Linked DNA regions of Homo sapiens: region 1 is linked to region 2. The links are contacts of gene promoters, found by promoter capture Hi-C in blood cells and fetal thymus (Javierre and others, 2016). All regions are on one chromosome and are shown on one strand. The core of a region is centred on a gene start or on the middle of the fragment in contact, and the rest is flanking DNA. Distances in the headings are between cores, read along the strand shown. Region 1 overlaps OSBPL1A (oxysterol binding protein like 1A). Region 2 holds the start of HRH4 (histamine receptor H4).

Region 1 (5,451 bases), core at 2,631-5,130, 95 kb after region 2:
AACAATCCCAGGGACACTGCTGGCAGCTGCAGTCCCTTGGAGGGTTGTTAGAGGCCTGTTGTGGGTGTGCTGAGGTTGTTGGCTGAGGTTTCTGTGGGTTCAGATCCTGGAATCCAGGAGCTGAGGGCAGTGTATCATGTAAGTGAGGTACTGCTATCTACAGTAGCTGTGAAACCATCGCTCTTTCCCTGCAGTGGCCCCTGGAATAACATGTTCTTGGGCTGTAACAGCCCCATCAAGGCAGGTGACTTTGGGATTTGATAGGGCTGTATTTGCTACAGTCTGATTGGGAATTTTGGGAAGCTTTTGGGCTTCCTCAGCTCTAAATAGTGCTCTGAATATCTTTTTTGCTAAATTGAATCTGTGATTTTAGTTTTTGCAACACTCAGTTGTTTATGTCTTTCCTCAGCTCTACTCCTAAGATCTGACACTTCATTGTCTTTAACTTCGGTCCTCTCTTTCACCTTGGCAACCCAATATCCTCATTAACTGAGACTTTATCTGAAGTCAAAGACTCCACTTTCAGGCACTATCTGTAGAGTTCACAGCTTTCCAAATCGTATTAGTCCATTTTCACACTGCTATAAAGAACTACCTGAGACTGAGTAATTTATGAAGAAAAGAGACTTAATTGACTCACAGTTACTCAGGCTTACCAGGAAGCTTGACAGGGAGGCCTCAGGAAACAACCACACACTTTCAGAGAGTTCCTGAGAACTCACTCACTGTCACGAGAATAGCAAGAGGGAAATCCGCCCCTATGATCCAATCACCTCCCACCAGGCCCCTGCTCCAATTCAACATGAGATATGGGTGGGGACAAATCCAAACCACATCACAGGTGCTGCAGGAACTATCCTTTACTGACTCTTGATGTGGTACAGGTGTACAGAGAGTTGCTGTGAGCTGCCTTCAGCTCCTCCATACCCTCCTGATACAGGTTTTCAAAGAGAGTTGCTTGTCGTGAACTATGTCAATAAAACCCCTCTTGACCTGATGATGGCAAGATGATTAAAGACTCGGAGCCCTAGAGTCAAGAAGCTGCTAGAGATCATCTAGCTCGAATGTAACCCCCGTCCTGTCTCCCTCTATCCCTTTAGAGGTGAAGACATCGAGTCAGAAGGTGGCACCAGATCTGCACCTTGTGAGTTCTCGTCCTTTACACCCATTACACTTCTTGGTCACATATCTTGCCTCTCACTTATCAGCAATGCATTGCAAAGGAGATTATTGAGGTAGCTTGTTATGGAGAAGTTAATTTCGTTGTAAAATTACCTAAATATGACCTAAAAATACCTTATATTTTTCCATTTTTAGGAAGAAGTAAGTCTAACTTGGGCTGGACACCTCTACATCTGGCATGCTATTTTGGACACAGACAAGTGGTCCAGGATCTGTTGAAGGTCTATTTATGACTTTAATTTTTAATGACTACAGTAAATATTATTGTTATGGAAATTTTAAGATGAAAGTCTTAGAAAAGCCACCTGAGCCATAATGACTTATTTAAAGCAATAGTTCATCATTCAAGACACTTAATTGTTCTTTATTAAATAAATACATGAATTAGGTTAGCCTGATTAATTAAAATTGTATGTTTAATCATTAGATTTTTTTATTACTAGCTTTTAAAAATAATAAAAGTAGGCATATTAATGAAGATTTTATTTTCAGTTCTGAGTGTGACAGTTGAAAAAATAACCAAAGCACACCCTAAATAATTAAAAAATAATGTCAATACACAAATAAAAATTAAAAAGAAAAAACAATGTCACAATCTCTTAGCACTGTATTTAAAGAGAATTGAGAGCTCATATTTCTTAATTCTATGATGAATAACTTCTCACATTCTGATAGTTCTGAAATTTGCTTGCATCTTACAATTCATCTGTACATTTAAATAATGGCATCTTTTTTCCTCAAAACTTATTAAATTGATAAAGGAGGAAATGTGGTATTTCATTCAGAGATCATTCTCCTTTTTTCAATATGACTGCTTCTAAAGTAGAGTGAAGGTGTATGGATTTTTTTTTTTTTTTTTTTAATCAAGACAAGGCCTCACTTTGTCACCCAGGCTGGAGTGCAGTGGCGTAATCTCGGCTCACTGCAGCCTTGACCTCCCAGGTTCAAGTGATCCTCCTGCCTCAGTCCCCCAAATACTGGAGCTATAGGCACGTGCCTCCACACCTGGCTAATGTTTTTCTATTTTTTGTAGAGACGGACTTTCACCATGTTGCCCAGGCTGGTCTCAAACTCCTGAGCACAAGCAATCCGCCCACGTCAGCCTCCCAAAGTGCTAGGATTACAGGTGTGAGCCACTGCGCCTGGCCAAGGTGTATAGATTTTTAGTGAAAAGTACCTTTTTACTTTTTATTTTTCTACCTATCAGGTAGATTTTTACCTTTCAGAAAACCTACCATATATACACTACTATATGTGTACATATATATATATATATATAAGATGGAGTCTCGCTATAGTGCCAGACTGGCCTTGAACTCCTGGGCTCAGATGATTCTCCTGCCTCAGCCTCCCAAGTAGCTGGGACTATGGGCTCAAACCACCGTGCTGGCTTTTTATTGTTACTTTAAATTTAATTTATTGTTAGTACTGACACCTAAACAATATTAACAATTTTAATTTTTTAAGGCCTTAATATATTTTGAAGGAATGATTTTCACCATTGTATATTTCTTGGTATTTAAAGTGGTCATGTTTACTAGGCTGGTGCAGAAGTGAATGTGTTGAATGACATGGGAGACACGCCGCTTCATCGAGCTGCCTTTACAGGACGAAAGGTGAAAATCATTCTATGTTCAATGTTTGTAAGTGAGGTATTTGGAGGAGTAGTTACCATTGTTTTCTCTGTTATAACCATCTGACCAGCAACCGAAGAAAGCCACACAAAAAAATGTATACACCAGCACTTTGGGTCAAAAGGCCACAGGATCTTTGAGTCTGACAGTGAGGTCCAGTACTAAGGTCATGGAGACCCCCACTCTGTAGCATCCCTGTGAGGAGATCATTCCGTTTCTGCTTGTGTACTCCAGCAATGGGGAACTCCTGATTATTCTTTTTTTTAAAAAAAAAATAGCTTCATTGAGGTATAACTTACATTGCATAAACTTCACCTGTGATATTGTGAAATATATATTTGGTCTTTGACCTTGTACACTAAAGATGTACAAAAAGATGGCTGGCAACCCCTAGGTGGCTTCAGGATGGGGGCTGGTCACCAGAAAGACCAAGGCAGGACTAGGGGGTTGGGACTTTCAGCCGAACTTTGCAACCTCCAGGGAGGGTAGAGGGGCTGAAGGGGAAATGGCTCGCTAATGGCCAGTGGTTTCATCAATCATGCCTATTTAATGGAACCTCCATAAAAACCTGAAAGGACAGGGTTCTAGGAGCTCCTGGGTAGCTGAACACGTGGAGGTTCTTGAATGATCACACCCAGGGAGGGCATGGGTGCTCTGTGCCCTTCCTCCATGCCTTGCCCTATGTATCTCTTCATCTGTATCCTTTGTAATAAAGCAGTAAACATGTTTTCCTGAGTTTTGTGGGCTGCTCTAGCAAATTAATGGAACCCAAACAGGGAGTCATGGGAACCCTAATTTAAAGACCATCAGTCAGAAGCTCTGGAGGTCTGGACCTGCAGCTGGTGTCTGAGGGGTGGGGAGAAGTGCTGGGACTGAGCCCTCACCTGTGGGATTAATGCTATCTCTGGGTAGATAGTGTTGGAATTGAATTGAAGGACACATAGCTGGTATTTGCTGCAGAACTAATTGCTTGCTTGGTGGTGGGGAGAACTGCCCCCACCCATATTTGGTCACAGAAGTCTTTAGTGTTACTTGCTGTAGTAGGAGAGCAGAGGAAAAGCATAATTTGATCACATATTGTAAGTGTGCATTTTAGTGATTTTTATACATTTACAAAATTGTGCAACATCACCAAAATCCAGTTTTAGAACATTTCTGTCACCCCAGAAGTTTCCTCATGCCTGTTTATATTCATCCCCTTCCCCTTTCCCATGCCCCAGGGTACCACTGAATTGTTTCCTTTCTCTAGATATTAGATATTTGCCTTTCCTAAACTTTTTTTTTTTTTTTGAGACCGAGTCTTGCTCTGTCGCCCAGGTTGGAGTGCAGTGGTGTGATATTGATTCACTGCAACTTCTGTCTCCCGGGTTCAAGCAATTCTCCTGCCTTAGCCTCCCAAGTAGCTGGGATTACAGGCACCCGCCACCATGCCCAGATAATTTTGGATTTTTAGTAGAGATGGGGTTTCACCATGTTGGCCAGGCTGGTCTCGAACTCCTGACCTTAGAGGATCCACCCACCTCAGCCTCCCAAAATGCTAGGATTACAAGCGTGAGCCACCGCACTCGGCCTAAACATTTCTTGTAAACAGTATCATACAAACTTTTGTGTCTGGCTTCTTTAATTTAGCATAATGTCGTTGAGGTTCATCCATGCTGTAGCATGTATCAGTAGTTTGGTCTTTTTTATGGCTGAATATTCCACTGTATGGATACACCATCTTTTGTTATCTGTTCAAGTTTTATTGAAAAGACTATCTTTTTGCATTGTATTGCCTAGATACCTTTGCTGGAAATCAGTTGACCATAATTTAAATGTTTCTGGATTTTTTTTTTTTTTTTTTTTTTTGTTGTTGTTTTTTGAGACAGGGTCTCGCTCTTTCACCCAGGCTGCAGGGCAGTGGCACAGTCTCAGCTCACTGCAGCCTCCGCCTCCCAGGCTCAGGTGATCTTCCCCTCTCAGCCTCCTGAGAAGCTGGAACTACAGGTGTGTGCCACCATACCTGGCTAATTTCTTGTATTTTTAGTAGAGACGGGGTTTCTCCATGTTGCCCAGGCTGGTCTCCAACTCCTAGGCCACCCACCTCGGTCTCTCAGAGTGTCGGGATTACAGGCATGAGCCACCATTCCTGGCCTGAAGTTTTCAACATAGAGATCTTGCAGTCCTTTTCTTAAATGTATTAACCAGCCTGGCTTTAATCTGTGGAATCTGGACTGAGTCTGGCCAGCTAATATATCTGCTGAGTTAAAAAAAAAAAATTAAAAAAAAATTGTTTGTTTGTTTTAGAGACAAGTCTCACTATATTGCCTAGGCTGGACTTGAACTCCTGAGCTCAAGTGATCTTCCTACCTCAGCCTCTTGAGTAGCTGGGACTGTAGGCATGCACAACTGTGCCTGGCTTTCAGCATAGTATTTTAGGATTCATGCCTGCATCTGTGTAGCCTAGTGGTGAGCCTGTATTTGAGCAGCAGTGGGCTCCATTACTCAATCCCCTTAGGCTTCTGTGCTCTGCCCTGGATCTATGTGTAGGCTGGAGAGTGCTTTCAGAGTCCAGGCATTTCTCGCTTCTTCCTCTGCTCTGACTTTTGCAAGGCCCCCTCTCCTTTCTCCTGCAAATGTGTGGAGTTTCCCAGCA
Region 2 (5,149 bases), core at 2,152-4,651:
TAGCAGCAACCACCTTTATCCCCTGAAGATCCTGTCCAGCCATCTGTCACATGGTCATGTAGGCCACAAACGCCAACACAACATGGGGATGAGAAGAAAGTACCCACAAATGGAAACACTGGTTACATGGTAACACTTTTATTGATATTGATGTAGATATAGATAGTATGTTTCCCAAAATAGTATACAGATGAGGTGTATTTATATAACGTCCGGTATAGCTAGTACTAGAATTTTTCCTCAATAAATCTTTGCTCTCAACAGTAAATTCAGCCTGAGAAATTAGCAACTTGGGTGCCACAAATTTAGATTCTCCGCAGAGGGCCAGTTCTGAAACCTGGGGGGAAGAGGGCATTCAGCCAGCAAAGCCACAGTTCCAAGCACATGTGAGGGTCTAATCTGCCCTGCCATGGTCACATGGCTCTGGAGCTCTGGATCTCATGACCCCAAATGTTAAGAATCAATGGCTAACAGCTGCAGAAAACCTCTCACGAGTTCTGCCCTGCATGCTCACCACGTCCACGCCTTCTTCCAGGCTGAGACAAAAGGTTCATTTCCCAGCATGGCAAAGGAGAAAGAACAGCACTGCCAGAAAACTTGAATCCTGTTACAAAAAGCTCCCAGGGACTGTGTCATGGTGAGCCCTGCATTAAATATGCAGACCTCTGGATGAAGCTGGCAGGAGGCAGGGGAGATGTGAGGGATGAGGCTGGCAGGCAGATGAAAGGAGACTCTGACCTGCACCCAACTCCTTTAATCAGGAGCAAAAGAAATTATCAGAATTATATCTTCACCCACCTGCTGATGGAGGAGATCACCAGGACTGCTGAATAACTACATCTGCAGGGCCATTTTCCAAAGACAAGCTCAAGCCCTTGAGGGTGGGACTGCCATGATGCTGGTCTTGGGCCAGACATGGAGACATTTTTACCTAGAACCATCTTGATTCAAAAGCTTCAGGCCCCAGGCTCTCTCAGCTGTCTCACCCTTCCCACCCTAAAACTGGGGCAGTCAGGGCCTCACTCCCTTTGGGTTAGTAAAAGCACATCATCTATTTTAAGTGATGACTGTCATCTAAAAGTCACAAGATCCTGTGAAGAAGGAAGAAGCAAAGGATACATATATTTATAGTGGAACTTTCTCTATGTTCACATAAATAAACTCGTGTATTTGTACATGTTTATGGGAGCACAGAGAATGATGTGGAAGGATCTACATCAAGCAGCAAATGTTGGTTACCTGAAGGGACAGAATTGAGGAAACAAATGTGGAGACAGTGCATTTTTTCAATACTTCTTTATGGGTTAGCTGCCTTTATGTGTCATTTCTATGCCATGACTCCTAAATCAATCTCCCCAACTAGAATTTTTCTCCAGAACTTTCAGTGCAACATCAGAACCAGAGCTGTCCTGCCCAAATACTTCCTGTTTCTTTGAAGAGCACCGTACCGTTCTTAGTCTCAGAAGCCCAATCTTTAACTCAGCTTTCTCTTTTCCCGCCCAACCACACCCTTAGCTGCTCTGCCTGTTGGCCTTCCTTTCCAATCATCCTAGCTCAGGTCCTAACTGCATGATTTCTGCCTAGATTGCTGCAGGATCATCTCTGAAAGCATGCCGCCCCACACTCCAGTTTCCCCATTTCCTACGGCTCTTCCGATGTCTCTAAAGTAAAGCTTTGATCTGTTCAACCACTCTCCTGTTTTAAAATCTTTAAATCTCCACAAGGCCTGCTGAATAAATTCCACTCCACACTCACGCTGGTATTTAAAGGCCCTCACTTTATAGATTTCATCTTCATCTCTACGGCTCCCCTGCACCTATCTGCACACCAGCCAGCTCCAAGCTCACTCACCCTTAGGAAGATAAGCACAATGATTTTCTACCAGCATGCCTTTGCTCATTCTTGGAGCAAAGAATCCTTCGCCCTATCTCTGACTATGGAAATTCTATCCATCTTTCAAAGTTCATGTTAAATGCCTCTATTCGCTAACTAAACGTGCTTTATCCCTCCTCCAAGTGACCATAGCACTTCTTAGGTCTTCGTGGGGTCTCGTGTTACTCTATACTGCTATAGTCATTTCTGAACATCTCTTGTCCACTCTTCTACATCAAAAACTTACTGGAAGAGACTAACCTAATCTTCTATAGATCCCTTGATTACCTAATAGTGCTTGCATACCTAGCAGTATTATACAGGCTAGATACTATACTAACATTTGTGACCTAGATTGGGGTTGACCCATATCTGCAGAGAAATTAAAAAAAAAAAAAAAAGAGAACTAACATTTGTTGAGTAACAACTGTATTCCAGGGAATGAACTAAGTATTTTGTGTGTTTATTTCACTTTAACATAAATGTAAGCTTTATGTAGTTATAGACAAAAATAATCTGAATATGCCAGATTAAATTATACTAGAAACTCCTGTAAAATAGTATCATCAGCTGACATTTCTGTACATCTACTTATTATGATAAGCATTGTTTAAAAATAAGAAGCATCAGGCAGTGAAAAATTATAAAGTGCGTGTTTTCAGAGAAAGTTGGTTTGATTTCTATGGTCTCTTAACGATGATATAATGCTATGATATCATATTATATGCAAGGCAGTTTACAGTTGGGTATATTTTACAAAATTCTATGCCATATCATTAAATTAATACTATTAATCATATTATTTAATTGATCTGAATACGCTATTTTCTGATTGCACTGGTTACTAGCATATACATAATTTCTTATTACTCCAACATTGTGATACCAACAAAACCATATTTACTTAAAGAGGAATACTTATAAGCCTAAACATATGAGGAAAATAGCACCAGAAACAAGTAACTCTTACATTAAAATTTTGGAGCTATACTGGACTTATCTTTATTCTATAAAAAGAAAATAAACTGTTTTCAGCTGAAAATTCCCCTACCACACTGATTTACATATGTATAACATTCCCTTACAGTGCCATATAGCCCCCTCCAAAATTTAATACTTAAACTTTTTGTGTTTATTTTTCCCCAGTTGTATACAGTCCCCTGAAATAACAAAAGCTTATTTTAAGGATTTAGAAATAAATTAAAATCGGAAAAGACTGTCTTAAATAAAGACATATAACTTACCCACAAAGAAGTCAGAGATGGCCAAGTTAAGAAAAAAATAACTACTTCGATGTCTAAGGTTTTTGTCCACCACAAAAGCTAAAATGACCAAAGCATTTCCTAGCATTATAGCAAAAGCTACTAAGGACATAAAAAATGCTAAAGTAACACGAGTGCTTAGTGATAAATTGATTGTGCTATTAGTATCTGGCATCACATCAAATGATGAAGAAGGTCAAATTAGCAAATTAATCCAGCCAGACAATTCTGACAAGTATGTTTTCTAATCACATACCTAAAATGTGTAGTCTTCCACTCAAAACAACACTGTTTTAATCTAATGCTGATCTCATAGTACTTCCTGATTCTTGATAAAGTAAGCTTGTGGTAACAGTTTCCCTTTAACTGACACTGAGAAAGTATTTCCAAAAAACAGTGAAATGTTTTACCTTAAACATTTTACTGTGATGCATCCATCTCCATTATTAGAATAAAATCATGTAATATCTATAAAATATAATCATTATACAGGAAATAAATTGGGCTCACACAAGGTTCATTGTTGTTGTTGTTGTTGTTGTTGTTGTTGTTGTTGTTGTTGTTTGGAGATGGAGTCTTACTCTGTTGCCCAGGCTGGAGGCCACTGATGTGAGCTCGGCTCATTGCAACCTCTGTCTCCCAGGTTCAGGCGATTCTCCTGCCTCAGCCTTCCAAGTAGCTGGGATTCCAGGCACTCATCACCATGCCCAGCTAATTTTTGTTATTTCTTGTAGAGATGGGGTTTCACCATGTTGACCAGGTTGGTCTTGAGCTCATGACCTAAAGTGATCCACCCACCTCGGCCTCCCAAAATGCTGGGATTATAGGCATGAGCCACCACACCAGGCCATTTTTAAAACTCGTGTAGATTCAGTTCAATATTCTCATCTGGCCATGATGGAGTAACAGGGGCTGAATTTCACAATCCCATCTGAAACAGCCAAAAAACTAGACAATGGTTTTCAAGGCACTTGTCATTAACAAGGAAGGACGGTGATCCCTGAGAGAACGGATGAGGTCTGCAGTTGCCCCACCTTACTATCTTGAGAGTTCCCAGGGCATGGGCAGAGAGGGGAAATCCAGGCAGAGCCCAGGAGACTCCCTGGGATGAGGAAATGGAGTTGAGAGTACAGGAGTACCAGAGAGGATTCTGAACTGCAGAGCCACACTGAGCAGAACTCCAGAGATCTGCAGAGGACCCCCTTCAAGTATTCACCAGAGTACTGATTAGCACTTGTGGAGGAACTGTTTTTAGGCAAGAAAAAGAACCACTCGAAAATATTAGAGGCAATAGTACCCAATGCTCACAGAGGGCTGGTTATAGTGCCTGCTCCCATTAGCCAAATGGAAAAAGTTCCTAATTCATGGGACGTTGGGCAGTACATTCAGAAGGGTCTTGCCTCAGTAGTCAGGAATAATTAGCCCTATACTAAATATTTCTTGGGTTCTTCCTAGCAAATCTTAAAAGCAAAACCTGAAAGGATCAAACTGTTTCCAAGCAGCTTAATTGCAACCCTGAACACAGCTCAAGAATATTTATATAACATAAAAATATCCAGTACCCAACAATGTAAAACTACAATGTCTTAAATCCAATTAAAAATTATCTGACATGCCAAGAAGCAGGCAAATGTGATCTATAATAAGGGGAAAAACATCAATCAATTGAAGTCAACTCAGAAATCACACAGATATTAGAATTAACAGACAAGAACATTAAAATAGTCAGATGGAATATGGAAAAACGAAAATGGAATATAGCTGTATTCCATATTTTCAAAAAGATATGTAAAGATATAGAAGATTTTTTAATCAAACATCTAGAAATAAAAACTAGAAGGTCTGGACTAAACATACATTGGAAAGGATTAATGGCAGAGATTGCAGAAGATAAGATTAGTGAACTTAAACATGTAATGATATAATCCACCTACAATGAAACACAGAGATAAAAGAGATTTTTTTTAATTAACAGTGTATCACTAAGGTAGAAGACAACTTCAAGTGACTTAATA

The links. Contacts are between HindIII fragments. The CHiCAGO score rates a contact against its expected background, and 5 or more counts as called.
Region 1: a contact is called between a fragment that was not itself captured here and the fragment with the promoter of HRH4 in region 2, in 1 of 17 cell types (M2 macrophages). The highest score is 5.9, in M2 macrophages.

The regions. Positions count from the first base shown.
Region 1 is chr18:24,364,239-24,369,689 of GRCh38, reverse strand. It overlaps OSBPL1A (oxysterol binding protein like 1A), which reads left to right. Exons shown (of 28, transcript NM_080597.4): 3 at 1,318-1,403; 4 at 2,724-2,798. All of the region lies in intron 2 of LOC124904268 (a long non-coding RNA gene), which reads right to left. Among named protein-coding and RNA genes, the nearest start is that of OSBPL1A, 31 kb to the left of the region's middle. The HindIII fragment of the contact is 6,429 bases long and covers 666-5,451 here.
Region 2 is chr18:24,458,889-24,464,037 of GRCh38, reverse strand. It overlaps HRH4 (histamine receptor H4), which reads right to left and starts at 3,401. Exons shown (of 3, transcript NM_021624.4): 1 at 3,117-3,401. The coding sequence starts at 3,309. The HindIII fragment of the contact is 429 bases long and covers 3,050-3,478 here.